Linked DNA regions of Homo sapiens: all the other regions are linked to region 2. Evidence: promoter capture Hi-C in 16 types of primary human blood cells and fetal thymus (Javierre and others, 2016). All regions are on one chromosome and are shown on one strand. The core of a region is centred on a gene start or on the middle of the fragment in contact, and the rest is flanking DNA. Distances in the headings are between cores, read along the strand shown. Region 1 overlaps EXOC1 (exocyst complex component 1). Region 2 holds the start of FIP1L1 (factor interacting with PAPOLA and CPSF1). Region 3 overlaps CLOCK (clock circadian regulator). Region 4 overlaps CEP135 (centrosomal protein 135). Region 5 has its middle 5.0 kb from the start of EXOC1.

Evidence for each region. The method cuts DNA at HindIII sites, captures the fragments that hold promoters and counts their contacts. A CHiCAGO score of 5 or more calls a contact.
Region 1: a fragment that was not itself captured here is called in contact with the fragment with the promoter of FIP1L1 in region 2 in 1 of 17 cell types (total CD4 T cells); the score reaches 7.2 in total CD4 T cells.
Region 3: a fragment that was not itself captured here is called in contact with the fragment with the promoter of FIP1L1 in region 2 in 1 of 17 cell types (total CD4 T cells); the score reaches 6.6 in total CD4 T cells.
Region 4: a fragment that was not itself captured here is called in contact with the fragment with the promoter of FIP1L1 in region 2 in 1 of 17 cell types (total CD8 T cells); the score reaches 5.8 in total CD8 T cells.
Region 5: a fragment that was not itself captured here is called in contact with the fragment with the promoter of FIP1L1 in region 2 in 2 of 17 cell types (non-activated CD4 T cells and activated CD4 T cells); the score reaches 6.3 in non-activated CD4 T cells.

What each region holds. Positions count from the first base shown.
Region 1 is chr4:55,864,781-55,867,480 of GRCh38, reverse strand. All of the region lies in intron 4 of EXOC1 (exocyst complex component 1), which reads right to left. Among named protein-coding and RNA genes, the nearest start is that of EXOC1, 12 kb to the right of the region's middle. The HindIII fragment of the contact is 854 bases long and covers 992-1,845 here.
Region 2 is chr4:53,376,202-53,378,901 of GRCh38, reverse strand. FIP1L1 (factor interacting with PAPOLA and CPSF1) reads right to left here and starts at 1,261. Exons shown (of 18, transcript NM_030917.4): 1 at 979-1,261. The coding sequence starts at 1,063. It overlaps LOC105377654 (a long non-coding RNA gene), which reads left to right and starts at 1,162. Exons shown (of 3, transcript XR_007058118.1): 1 at 1,162-1,243. RefSeq lists a silencer at 684-773 and enhancers at 446-994, 934-1,053, 1,104-1,193, 995-1,543. The HindIII fragment of the contact is 4,469 bases long and covers 1-2,700 here.
Region 3 is chr4:55,542,794-55,545,493 of GRCh38, reverse strand. All of the region lies in intron 1 of CLOCK (clock circadian regulator), which reads left to right. Among named protein-coding and RNA genes, the nearest start is that of CLOCK, 2.8 kb to the left of the region's middle. The HindIII fragment of the contact is 1,659 bases long and covers 517-2,175 here.
Region 4 is chr4:55,950,746-55,953,445 of GRCh38, reverse strand. CEP135 (centrosomal protein 135) reads right to left here. Exons shown (of 26, transcript NM_025009.5): 2 at 1,203-1,360; 3 at 171-361. The coding sequence starts at 1,315. It overlaps LOC124900705 (a long non-coding RNA gene), which reads left to right. Exons shown (of 3, transcript XR_007058124.1): 3 at 975-1,055. Among named protein-coding and RNA genes, the nearest start is that of CEP135, 3.2 kb to the right of the region's middle. The HindIII fragment of the contact is 504 bases long and covers 1,084-1,587 here.
Region 5 is chr4:55,847,346-55,850,045 of GRCh38, reverse strand. No RefSeq gene overlaps it. Among named protein-coding and RNA genes, the nearest start is that of EXOC1, 5.0 kb to the left of the region's middle. The HindIII fragment of the contact is 6,305 bases long and covers 1-2,700 here.

The DNA of each region.
Region 1 (2,700 bases), core at 169-2,668, 2.5 Mb before region 2:
ATGTTGTTTTATCACTCTAAATAAAGTTAGCAATTTCACAGACTTAATGGGGCATGATTTAAACCACAAACTCTGGATGCTTTTAGTATTCATTATTTTATAGGAAAATGAATATTTACATTCAGCATGACCTGAAATACGTTCATTTGTCCCAGAACAAAAAGAAGACTAAAACTTTTGGTACAGGCAATTACAGATTTTAGTATATAAGTTCTTTAGAGAGATATTACCGATCTCCTTGTCCTTTCAACGAGTCCATTTAATTCACTGCGAAAAAGTTCAACTGTCATGTGTGACAGCTTATTAGCCACTAGGGGGCAGGGACTGCCCAAATCATTCTGTACAGGTCCTTACACAAGTAGACTTAAACAAATATTTTACATGATTATAATTAACTGCTTCAGAAGTATTTTCTAATGATATGTCCTTGAAAGCCAATAATAAATACTATCATTAATTTTATTACTATGTAGATTTTTAAAATAAATTTGTCCCAGTACATCATTTCATAAAACATACAACCAACGGTATATAACAAAGGCAACTAATAAAAACATATGGAATAGAAGAAGAAAAGGTGTTACGCACCTTCTGTAACTTTAGGCAGTTCTGGAGAGTAAAAAGTATGAAAAAAGCAGAGGAAAGTAAGCAAAGAATATTAGCTGGGTAGAAAAGTAAACAGGCTTAAATTTTTAAAATACTACCCATATCTCATTTGAACTTCATGTTAAAGTTCAAAAGACAGCCAAATCAACTACCAAGTGGAAAGATCCATAAGAAGCTAAATTTGCCGTGTTCATTTTTCTTATTCACTTTCTGATAGTGACTACAAATATATTTATCTTTCTAATTTCTCTTAGTCTTTTAAGAAACAGCACTAACTAACCCTTAGAGGAGAAACCTGGCAAACTAATCATTTCCTGGGGATTATATTTAGGTCAGTTGTGACTCATGCATGTAGCCTAGTTATGTTACTTAAGGCCCAAAAGCTTTACCCAGACACTCCCTCACAGAGGATTAGTCACAAAACATGGTTAGAAAGGACAAGATTGAGGCAAGTAAAAAATTACACAAAATAACAGTTCAAGCCAGCATTTAAGGATTCAAGTCAAAGATTCTTTTTTAAAAAGCTGGTTGCAAGTAAAAGAATGAAAAAAAAGGCCAAATAAAAACTTCAATCTACTTCAACTGCTGAAAAGTCCTCTTTTACAAACCTTATTCTGCTGAGGAGCCCCATTATTTAACTTACGTATTCAATTGTCAACAATAAAAACTACCAAGTTGCCACTGCTACCATTTATAATCAAAATAGTCTTACTTAATTATTGAGCTCTTAAACTGGGGTGGTAATAATTTTTTATTTGTTTTCTAACATCACTCAAAACTTAGAGACATTTTTTTTTAATGGGAATTAAAGGCTGTAATTTCAAGGTCCATAAAACAAGTTTGTAGACATTAATGAAGCTATTCCCTGAACTCCACTAAACCAAAGCAAGAGTTACTGACGTATATAGCAAGTGATTTTCAAAATGAGATCCTTAAGGATCTTCTCAGTATTCTTAAAATCGATCTCAGTTAGGGTTAATGTTTATACACATGAACGTGTCTATACTCTTGTTTTATGGCCTGAAAAATTGAATGCCTTTTTTTTTTTAAGTTAGACACTTCATTTTCAAAAACAGTAATACTCTTCTCACTGATTTTGGTAGTATTTCTTAATGAGGCAGATCCAGGTAGGGTATGTATTTTTCTATATGACTGTCCTGAAATATACTGGTTTAAAATCACCTTACACAATAAATAACATCTGGAAATGCATAATATTTGAAGACAGAACAGCAAGCTTGTGAATCACTGAATCACTGACTCATCAGAATGTTCAACCCTGAAATGTTAAAAAAAATAAAAGCCATTCGAAGCAAATTAAACCACGATTCAAGGCATGAAAAGTTACCATAAATTTCTTGAAGGTCATTCCCTCTACACACTCAATTACCAAGATGTTGGGGACTAGTGTTGGTGAGATGGCAACCCTGGGGATTCCTACATAAGACCAGCACTACTGGTGGCTGACATATGTGACTTGTTTCTGCCAGTGCCAAGCATCAAGCCTAAAATCAGCAGCAGGCTCACTGATTACTAAGTGCTATCTTACAATGTTTGTATCTTTAGGAAAGAAATTTTAAAAGTAGAGAAAATCTCATATTTTCACTAATTAATGGTAGAGTTTTTGTCTTGTAACACAAAATGATGCATAGTAACATTCCTGAAGATATACTGATCAAAAATATTCTAATAATCTTCATGTCTAAGGATTTTATACTGGTAACATAATAATAGCTAATATTTACTGAGCACTTACTATGTACCTGGCACTGTTCTTACTATGTTCATATATTAAGTAATTTAATCCTCATAACAACCCTATGAGGTAGATACTATTATTATCTCTAGTTCTGAGATAAGGGAAACTGAAACATAGAGAGTAAGTATCAATGCAAAGTCATATAGCTAGTTAGTGGCAAAGCCAGGATTTGAACCCAAGAAGTCTGACTTCAGAGCTATGTTCTTAACCACTACATCTACCCTCTGTACAAAAATACTGCTACAAGGGTATTTATCCCAGAGCTGTTTAAAAGAAGCAAAGATTGGAAAATTAAAAAATAAATGATTAGTTAAATAAACATGGTATATCCATAT
Region 2 (2,700 bases), core at 12-2,511:
TAACTAATGCTAAATCTTGCCACCAAACGATTTTTTTTTACAAGTTTATCAAAGTCACATCATCAAGGACCTGCATGGTGCCCAAAGTGCACTTTTACTATTCTATTCTAAAGACAATCAAGAATATATGTTTTAGGCAAGGAACAAACATTAACTTTCAAATCTGGTGTTAACAAGCAAGAAGGGATTGTGACTTAAAGTTAAAAACCAGATGTCAAACAAGTACCCTTCTAGAGAGAAGTACATGATGCATTAAATTTATTTTGAGAAAAACAAATACATGAGATGACACTGAAAACTATAAGCCGAAGGGTCATGAGATACCTCCATGATGTAGGTTAAACGGTAGTCTCTTAAAAAAGAATAACTTCACCTTAATACAGGAGACATTCAGAGTTTTCTTTATGGGCCATCTTTCTCTCTCTCTCTCTTAATTAATTATTTTTAAAGCACGACTTTCAGACAAGGAGGTACCCTTGCAGGTGCATTCCATACAAACTGACCATCAAGAAACAAGACGTTAGTTGTACAGCATTAACTTTATTTAGCTATTATTACAGAATGACTGTTTCTGAAAGAAGGGACAGGAAGGGCACCCTAAGGCCACAGGGCAAAAACAGACACCAAAAACCACCACCTCAGAATCGACAGAAAAAAACAAGGGTAAAGAGCGCAGCAGCTAGGCGATCGAGACGCCTCGGGGAAAGCACAGCGAAGCCGGGGGCCAGGACCGGTCACAGCCCCCCAGCCCGGCCCGGCCGCCACAGGGGTGGATGCGCATGGTGGGCGTGGGCCAGGCGGGAGACCGCCGCGGGGACTGGGGGCACGCGCACGCCGCGCTCGGCCTAAGTCAGGCCGGACAGGACTCCCAACCAGAGGCCCGAAGCGGCGGCGCGAGAGGCCAGGGACGCCGGCCGTTTGAGGGCCAAGAGGGGAGGCCTGAGAGAACCCGAGAGACAGAGACAGGAAGTTTCGTACCGCCATAGAGCCACTCTTCCTCCTCATCCCCTCCGGTCCCGCCGCTCAGCTCCGACACTAGGCGCTCGACCTCGCCGGCCGACATGGCCGCCCCGAGCGCAACTTAAACGCGGCGATCAACAGCCCCCTCCAACCCCTTCCCCAGCCTCGCAGCCCCGAGGCGCGAGAAGGGCGCGAACCCGCCGACGAACGAACGAAGAAAGCTCGAGACTCCAATCCCAGGAAGGCGACGGCAGCGGCGGCAAAGATGAAGCCTCCAGCGCAGGTCCGTCTGCGCATGCGCAGGAGACCCAAGCGGCGCGGCGCGTATAGGTGGCTTCGCTTCCGCGGCGGCCACCTGGGCCTGGTTGCGCCTGCGCGCTGAGGTGGGCCCCGCCCCTCTAGGATCCCGGTTTGCTATTTTGCGTGGCTTCCTCCCGTGGCGTCCTGAGTCGGCCAGGGTTCCCCGCCCCCACCCTTCTTTTTAATAACCCGTATTGCCATTGCTGGCGAGTACACCATTGTTCCCTTCTACTCTTCGTGCTCTTTCTTCTCAACTTTTTATTTGTTTTTTAATCTTCAGAAAGGCCTTCTTTTATTCTTTAATCAGCCTTGATACAGAATCATTACCTGTCACTCCCTTTCCTCACTGAATAGAGAAGAAATCACAATCAGTACTATTTCTCAAAAAATTAATTTTCACAGCCAACAAAAGCAAAACTAATAGATGAAGAATGCACTCTCCTTGTTAAAAACCATAAATTACTGTCAAGGTCAAAGACCGCCTCATTCCCCTACCCTTCTCTCCGGAGGTAGCCCTTGCTACAGATGCATATCCTGTTTGGAGTTCATCATTCCGAAATTTCCTATACACTTACTTCATGTGTTGTGCTGTTTTGGTGGGAGAACCTGAGATTGACAAGTCTTAAATAGTACAGTACAGTATAGTATCATCCTTCGACTTCCTTTTTTTTCTTTTTTTTTAGCATCCGTGTCTTGGAGCTCTTTTTCATTTTAGTATGAATCAAACTATATCTATTTTAAGTGCTTCATAAAATTGCATAGTATGGCTATCACAGAGTGAATATGGCTATTTCTCCATTGATGTACACCCAGATTGCTTTTGACTTTACACTTTTAACTACAACAAAAAATGACAATGAAGATCCACACGGCTCCTTGCAGATTTGTCTGTTTCTCAAAGATAGATCATAAAGTATGTACAGTTTTTATTTTAATAGGTAAACCAAATGTTCAGGCCGCTTCTGAAAGCACATCTTCCAGTGAAAAGATGACATACCATGGTTCAAACTGGAGCTCTAGGTTTGTCTAGGTTTTTTGTTTGTTTGTTTATTTATTTGAGGCGGAGTCTCACTCTGTTGCCCAGCTGGAGTACAGTGGTGCGATCTCTGCTCACTGCAACCTCCACCTCCTGGGCTCAAGCGATTCTTCTGCCTCAGCCTCCCAAGTAGCTGGGATTACAGGCACGCACCACCATGCCCAGCCAATTTTTGTATTTATAGTAGAGAGGGGGTTTCACCATTTTGGCCAGGCTGGTTTTGAACTCCTGACCTCAGGTGATCTGCCCACCTTGGTGTCCCAAAGTGCTGGGCTTACAGGCATGAGCCACCACGCCCGGCCTGTTTTTTTGTTTTGTTTTGTTTTGTTTTGTTTTGTTTTGTTTTGTTTAAAAAACAGTCTTACTCTGTAACCCAGGCTGAAATGCAGTGGCAGGGTCACTGT
Region 3 (2,700 bases), core at 97-2,596, 2.2 Mb before region 2:
GTCGTTGATTTGACTATAACGCTGATCCCCCCAAATCAAAGGTAATTTCACTTTGAAGATTGCGTTCTGATTTGTAGCTTTAAGCGATTAGAGAAAATTGTGCAATATTCCCCTCTACCTGTTTGAAAATAAACATTCTTAAAAGGATGTAATTTAGATAATGAATTGCTTTCTCTGAAACTTATCCCTTGGGACACCTCAAATCTGATTGGTTTTCAAAGCTTGGGGGAAGGAAATTAATTCCTGTGATAAGTGGTTGGCTGAACAGAATGTCTTGAAAGGTTAGCCTGTAGCATTAGGAGAAATACCTAATGTAAACGACGAGTTAATGGGTGCAGCACACCAGCGTGGCACATTTATACATATGTGACAAACCTGCACGTTGTGCACATGTACCCTAGAACTTAAAGTATAATAATAAAAAAAGTAAAAAAAAAAAAAGTTAGCCTGAAGAAAGCAGACTGAAAATGTTCTAAAGCTAGGCGTAATCAGTTATGAAAAAAGAATAAGGAAGCTTTCTACGTACTAACATGCAAAGATTGCAAAAATTTGCTATGAAGTGAAAAAAGCAAGGTGTAGCGGTACTTTGTGAATAGTGTGTTACATCTTAAGGGCGAGGTGTAATAATACAAGTTTATGTTTGCTCTTTATATAAAGAAATTATGGGAGGATTTAGAAAACTAACAATAGAGGAGAGGGAGAAATAGTCTGAGGGAATGGTGGGAAATGAGATGTATTATGTGTATGTCTTCATGTTTTCAAATTTTTGTGTGTATTATGGACTCATAAACTGGATTAAACAAAAATCCTCCTCCCCCAAATAATTTGTGTGATTTTTGTTGCCTAATTTATGGTGATTTGAGTCATTTTCAATATGATTGCTTTTCATATTTTTTAGGAAAATCAACTAAAAAGGAAGTTTGGGATACCTTTTATGACTATTTACACTTTAATTTTTAAGATTGCAGAGGTCACAGGCATTTATCTTTTAAAGATGTTTAGTTATATCTTGCCTTGCTAAAATATATGACTGTTTACATTTGGCATTATGGCTGGATTATGCTGCTTTCAGAGTGTAGTTTGTGTTTCCCCCTCCTCTTTTTTTCAGGAGTCATAGATGGGTAAAATTTTACTTAACCCCAAAGTTTCATGACAAACAATTATGAGGAGGATGTGAACATTCCCTTAAAGTGCTAGTAAACTTGATTGTCTAGGTTAGTTTGCTTTTCAGGTTGGGAAACTTTTCTTTCTTTTGAGGAAATCAAACATGAACCCCAGTGAAAGGTAAATTGGGGTGTGTGTGTGTGTGTGTGTGTGTGTGTGTGTGTCTGGTTGTTTCTCATGAAAGTGTACAAAATGAACATTTTTTTAGGACTGGATTGTTGAAAACCTGTTTAATGAGGTTAAGACTGCACAGGCAGCTGTTAGATGAGATATAATTTTGGGAGGGGACCCTCAAACTCCCCCTGGTGACTAATATTGTGTAATGAAAGTAGTGAATAGTGAGTAATGGATTGCAGTTGCTGTGGGCATTTTTGTAATATTACCAGTATTCCTTTTTATTTTGTAGGATAGGATACTTATATTATTTCTGTTTGATATGTAGGTTTTTCTAATAGACTTCTGCAAAGTGTCACTTATTTTTCATTTGAATTCCATGTGGGTCCGTTCAATCTTTTTTAAAAATGGAATTACATTTCAATTTTTTTTTTTTTTGGAGACGGAGTCTTGCTCTGTCACCAGGCCGGAGTGCAGTGGCACGATCTTGGCTCACTGCAACCTCCGGCTCCCAGGTTCAAGAGATTCTCCTGCCTCAGCCTCCCGAGTAGCTGGGACTCTTATTTTTAAAATTACAGAAGTAAATTGATGCTCATAAAAAGTTAATACAGTGTATATATAATAAGTGACAACCCCTTTACATCCACTTCTAGCTCACATTCCTCCCCAGAGGAATCTAGGGAGCACAGCTACTCGTATACCCTTGACTGAAGGGTAACACTGTTAACACCACTGTATGATCTTGTAGATCTTTTTCTGTGCATTTGCAAATATGTTCTTTTCAGCCTTGAAAACGGAATCATCTTGAATGATCATCTGCTTTGCCATTTTGCCTCCAGTATGGGCTCTGTTATTACCTACAGGACAGGGACATGACTTGGAGCCTGTCAGAAAGCTTAACATCTGATATAGACCATAGGTCATACTCATCTTTTCACTAGTGAGGGGCCAATTGTTATGGAGGCATTTGCAGAGTTTGAAGGGAGGTCATACTGATGTGAGTTTTATCTGGTATAGATTTAATTCACTGTAAACTTCGAGCGGCCGAGGTGGGAGAATGGCTTGAGCCCAGGATTTCAGGACCAGCCTGGGCAACATAGTGAGACCTCTTTGCTACAAAATTTTTTTAAAAAAAATTAGCCAGATGGGGTGGTGCACACCGTAGTTTCAGCTAATTGGGAGGCTGAGGTGGAGGGATCACTTGAACCCAGGAGTTCAGCCTTGGTGACAGAGTGACACCCTGTTTTAAACAAAACAAACCCAAAAGGTGCTTGGATTCCATGAATTTTATAGGACTCTTTAGAGTCCAAGTTTTAGGGTTTTCTTTGGCTTTTGACTTGATCGATAGTGTATGGGTTAAACTTTGATTTTTTTTCCTTCTGTACTTGCTTGCAGACTCCTACGAAAGCCTCGTAGATTACA
Region 4 (2,700 bases), core at 86-2,585, 2.6 Mb before region 2:
AATCCTCCCACCTTAAACTCCCGAGTAGCTGGGACTATAGGCACACACCATCCAGCTGTAGGACTACTATATTTTCTAATCAATAGTTTTAAAATTAGACGTTAGCTTTTCCTTCTAAAATAAAAAGGACAAAGACATTGCATTTTAAAAATTATCAAATTTTCACTTACCTTTAACGTGTTGGTCTGAATGTTCTCTCAGTTTCATTAACTCTAGGTATAATTCATTATTTTCTCTACTCAATCTTGCATTTTCAAGTTTATAGGGTTCCAAAACAAAATCAAAATTGGCACTTTCTTTTTCAGCTTTCACAGCAGATAATTTTGATTGCCGAAGGCTCTCAGTTGTATGAACTAAGTCGCTAAAAGAACAGAAAATTTAAATACCAGGAAATATTTCATTAACTTTCTAATAACTAAAAACATATTTCTAAAGAGGCTTAAAATACAGTCATGCACCACATGATGACATTTTGGTCAACGACAGACCACATATAGGAAGGAGAGTAGTCCTGTAAGATTTATAATGGGGGCAGCTGAAAAATTCCTATTGCCTCATGAGATCTGGCCATTGTAACACTGTAGCACAACACAATACCTTTTCTATGTTTAGATATGTTCAGATATACAAATAGGCACCACTGTGTTAACAATTACCTACAGTATTCAGTATAGTAACATGCTATACAGGTTTGTAGCCTAGGAGCCATAGGATACAGACCATATAGCCTAGGTTTGTGGTAGGCGACACCATCTAGGTTTGTGTAAGCACACCCTATGATGTTGGTACAACGAAAAAATCACCTAATGATGACATGTTTCTCAGAACGTATCCCTGTCATGAAACTATCCATGACTGTATTTGAAGACCAGTGAAGCAGACATAGAACTTAAGGGGGGGAAAAAAAAAGAACTTAAGGGAAAAGTGTCTCTCAATTATATCAGAAACCCAAAAAACTGTAATTCCATTCACAGAGAAAACCCCCAGAAATGTTGACTTTGAACAGTACAGCGTGAGTGGTGGCCTTTAGAGTTCTGCCGTGTGGAAGGCCTGGATTGAGGACAGGGAAAAAACAGATAAGCTTCATGATTGAAAGCCTTTCCGGAAAGCTACCCTTTTCTTTACCAAAGCATGAAGTTCAATCAGAAATGAGGTAAGTGGTTAGGGATCATAAAGGTTGAAAACTGTATTTTTGTCTTTACCTGAAAAGTTTTTCTACCAAAGGTAAACACTCCACTGTCAGAGTCTGGCGGTATCCCAGCTGATCCAGCCTTTTCCTAATATTAATATACTTTCTCTCTACAGCTGTAGTCATCTCGTCTTCTAAAACAAGTTTTATTCACTTCCAAAAATTAAAGTCCTGAGAGAAAAGAATGAAACATCATTATCTTATTATAGCTATGATTGTTGTTTCACAATAAGAAGAAAAAATTATTTTAATATGAAGCAATTATTTTTTGTTTTTCTTCAGGTAGGTAGCCTTCTGGAAAATTCAGATTTAAAGCCAATGCTTATGATATTCCTGTTACTGCATTAAAATAAATACTTCCTCATACAACTAAATGTAAAAGTTAAAATCCTAAAGCTTCTAGGAGAAAACAAAGATTTTTCCTAAGCCTGAAGTAGGCAGAGACTTCTCAGAGAGGCCTCTTTTAAAAGCACTAAACATAAAAGATAAATTTGATAAATTGGACTTCATCAAAATTTAAAATGTCTGCTCATCAAAATACTCAATTAAAATAGAGAAGGCAAACCAAAGAGTGGGAGAAAATATTCACAATATCTGACAAAGGATTTGTATAGGGAATATAAAAGGAATTCTTACAACTCAATAATAAGACAAACATCCCAATAAGAACATTAATTTGGGCTAAAACTGTAATTTAGTTGCGCTAAAGATTCGAACAGACACCTCGCATAGGTGTCTGAATGGGAATGATGATATGAAATGGTGCTCAACAGTAGTCAACATGGAAATACAAATTAAAACAACAAGGTACATTTTCTCCCAAACTAGAATGACTAAAATTACAAGGACCGACAATAGCAAATGTCGACAAAGATCTGGAGCAACTGGAATCTTCACACATTGCTGACAGGAATGTAAAATCACTTTGGAAAAAGTCTGGCAGTTTTTTTATAAAGTTAAACATACTTCTGGACTATAACCCTGTGATTTTATTCCCAGGTATTTATAGAAATAAAAAATATTCACAAAAATACTCTACAAGAATGTTCACAGCTTTACTCATAGTAGCCCCAAACTGGAAACAACCTAAACCCCCATCAACAGCAGAAGGGGTAAAGTATGATATATTTATACAGTGCAATACTAAGGGATAAAAGGAACTACTGATACACATCAACAGCATGGATGAATCTCAAAAACATTATTTGAGCAAAAGAAACCAGACAAATACTGTATGACTCCATTTACATGAAGTTGATGAACAAGTAAAATTAAAACTATGGGGCCAGAAATTAAAACAAGAGTTGTCTGGGGAGGTGAGGCGGGCTGCAGATTGCCCGTTAAGAGTTAAGACACAACTTTTTAGGGTAATGAAAATATTACATTGATTGGGGTAGTGGTTACACAAGTGTATACATTTAGAGAATTTACTTTTCAAATAGTACACTTAAACTCTATGCATTTCATCATGTAAATTTCACTTCAATTAAAAAAAAAGACACACATAAGTA
Region 5 (2,700 bases), core at 124-2,623, 2.5 Mb before region 2:
TGACTAAACTAAAAGAGCACCCTGTAACAAACGCTGAGCAGGGCTTCAGGAGCTGTAAACGTTCACCCCTATACGCTGCCGTGGAGTCCGAGCCCCACAACCTGCCCTTCTGCATGCTCCCCCTAGAGGTTTGAGCAGTGGGGCACTGAAGAAGTGAGTGACACCCCCATCGCATGCCCTGCGATGGGGATAAGGGAATTTTCCTGTTTCGGAATCACACAGACCAGGGGTTCAAATCTGGTCTTTACCCTTTACTGAGTCAGTGACCACAGGGCAAGTTACTTAACTCTTCAGAGCCTCAATTTTCTCATCTGTATATAAAAAATAGTAATCCCATCTTGGGCATATTTGCTAAGATGTTTCTTGTAAAGCACTTGTCTCATTGCTTGGCACACAGTATAAGCATTCAATAAATGGTAGCTGTTATTACATGCAGATTGGTTTAGTAGATTAAATTGGGCAGATTTACCTACTTGAAAAACATGTAATAGTCACCCAAGGAGGTTCTGCCCAAGGAGGTTCTGAGGTCCCGCTTCCTTTACATAGAAAGAAGGCTGTATATATTAACATGTATCACATATGAGGGAATCTCATACTTACATAGCATGAAATAACTTTTCCATTGTTAGTAAGCTCCAAGGGAAAAGTCTCTTCTAAATGGTGAAGAGTAGTAAATATTGATGATTTATAGAAGTTAATTGTTTCCTCAGAGAAATCGCTCTTGTTACTGTGCACCAGTAAAGCAGAGGCCTGAAGATTGTAAAGACTTCATGTTCTTCTCAAGACCTGAATCCATTTTGCACCTTTTGAAGGGGGAGGGAGACCATCCTTTTCCTCAGCTTGAACCCCTGAAGGAGGAAGGGCAAAAGTGCCCCACTCCCTCTAGGGCTGTCTCTGATGACATCGGTGGTAGCTCCACTGGCTTTGAGGACATTGTTTAGTGAGAAAACTCATAGATTTCATGGAAGTGGACTTTCATATTTCATATTTGGATGCCTCTTTTACTGGCATCCAAACTGTCTTTTGATATCAGTCTGATTAATTTTAATTTGGGTATAAAGCTAAGGGATCTTCAAATGTTTAAAATGTTCAAATGTTTAAAATCATGTAGATTTATATAATTTCAATTTGAAATGTGACATTTTAAACATTTGACATTTATTATGACACTTACTTTGATTTTTCTCTTCCCTATTTCTTAGCATTGTTTTCTTATAATTTAATGATGCATGTTCCTGTCTAAGAAAGGAAGAACTTTTTTTCAGAGATGTAAGACTATTAGTATCAACACAAAGAACACCAAGTAACTCTTTGTGGGGGTGGGGGGTGGACAATGAGAGTTACAATGCTGCACTTCCCAGATTCTTTATTTTCTTTTTCGTTCTGTTTTTTCTGGAGACAGTCTTGCTCTGTCACCCAGGCTGGAGTGCAATGGCGTTAGCTCACTGCAACCTCTGCCTCCCAGGTTCAAGCGATTCTTCTGCCTCAACCTCCTAAGTAGCTGGGACTACAAGCACATGCCACCATGCCTGGGTGATCTTTTGTATTTTTAGTAGAGATGGGGTTTAGTAGAGATGGGGTTTTGCCATGTTGCCCAGGCTGGTCTCAAACTCCTGGGCTCAAGTGATCTGCCCACCTAGGCCCAGATTCTTTATTTTCTAAATATCTTTAACAACTGCAGCAAGGAAGAAATGTCTCTACTGTTAAATACATAAAGCAATTGGTGTTTGTTTTAGGTTTTGTTAGAAATAGATGTAAATATCCCCACGTGATACTTTCCATTTCTTTGTAGCTTTATGGGAGGAAGTCAGGGAGTCACTAAATAAGGATGGTAATTACCTGTATCAATATTAATTAAGTAAATATTATAAATAAATATTAGTTAGATAGTAGATGCACATTTGACATCATTATTGGAAAGTAATATAATGTGACATACAAATAAATATAAGGAAGGCAAAGATTGGCTTGCAGAATCACATTGCGTCTCAATGCTTTTCTTATGCAGCTGCCTTATTTAATATACATATTGTAGAGTGATATTACAATAAAGGGCAGTCATTACAAATGCACAGTGCTGAACTCCGTATACACATTCTAGGAGATTCTCTCAGAAGTGCAGAAATCATCTCTTTTTTTTTAATTTTTTTATTTTTTATTATTATTATACTTTAAGTTTTAGGGTACATGTGCACATTGTGCAGGTTAGTTACATATGTATACATGTGCCATGCTGGTGTGCTGCACCCACTAACTAGTCATTTAACTTTAGGTATATCTCCTAATGCTCTCCCTCCCCCCTCCCCCCACCCCACAACAGTCCCCAGAGTGTGATGTTCCCCTTCCTGTGTCCATGTGTTCTCATTGTTCAATTCCCATCTATGAGTGAGAACATGCGGTGTTTGGTTTTTTGTCCTTGAGATAGTTTACTCAGAATGATGATTTCCAATTTCATCCATGTCCCTACAAAGGACATGAACTCATCATTTTGTATGGCTGCATAGTATTCCATGGTGTATATGTGCCACATTTTCTTAATCCAGTCTATCATTGTTGGACATTTGGGTTGGTTCCAAGTCTTTGCTATTGGGAATAGTGCCGCAATAAACATACGTGTGCATGTGTCTTTATAGCAGCATGATTTATAGTCCTTTGGGTATATACCCAGTAATGGGATGGCTGGGTCAAATGGTATTTCTA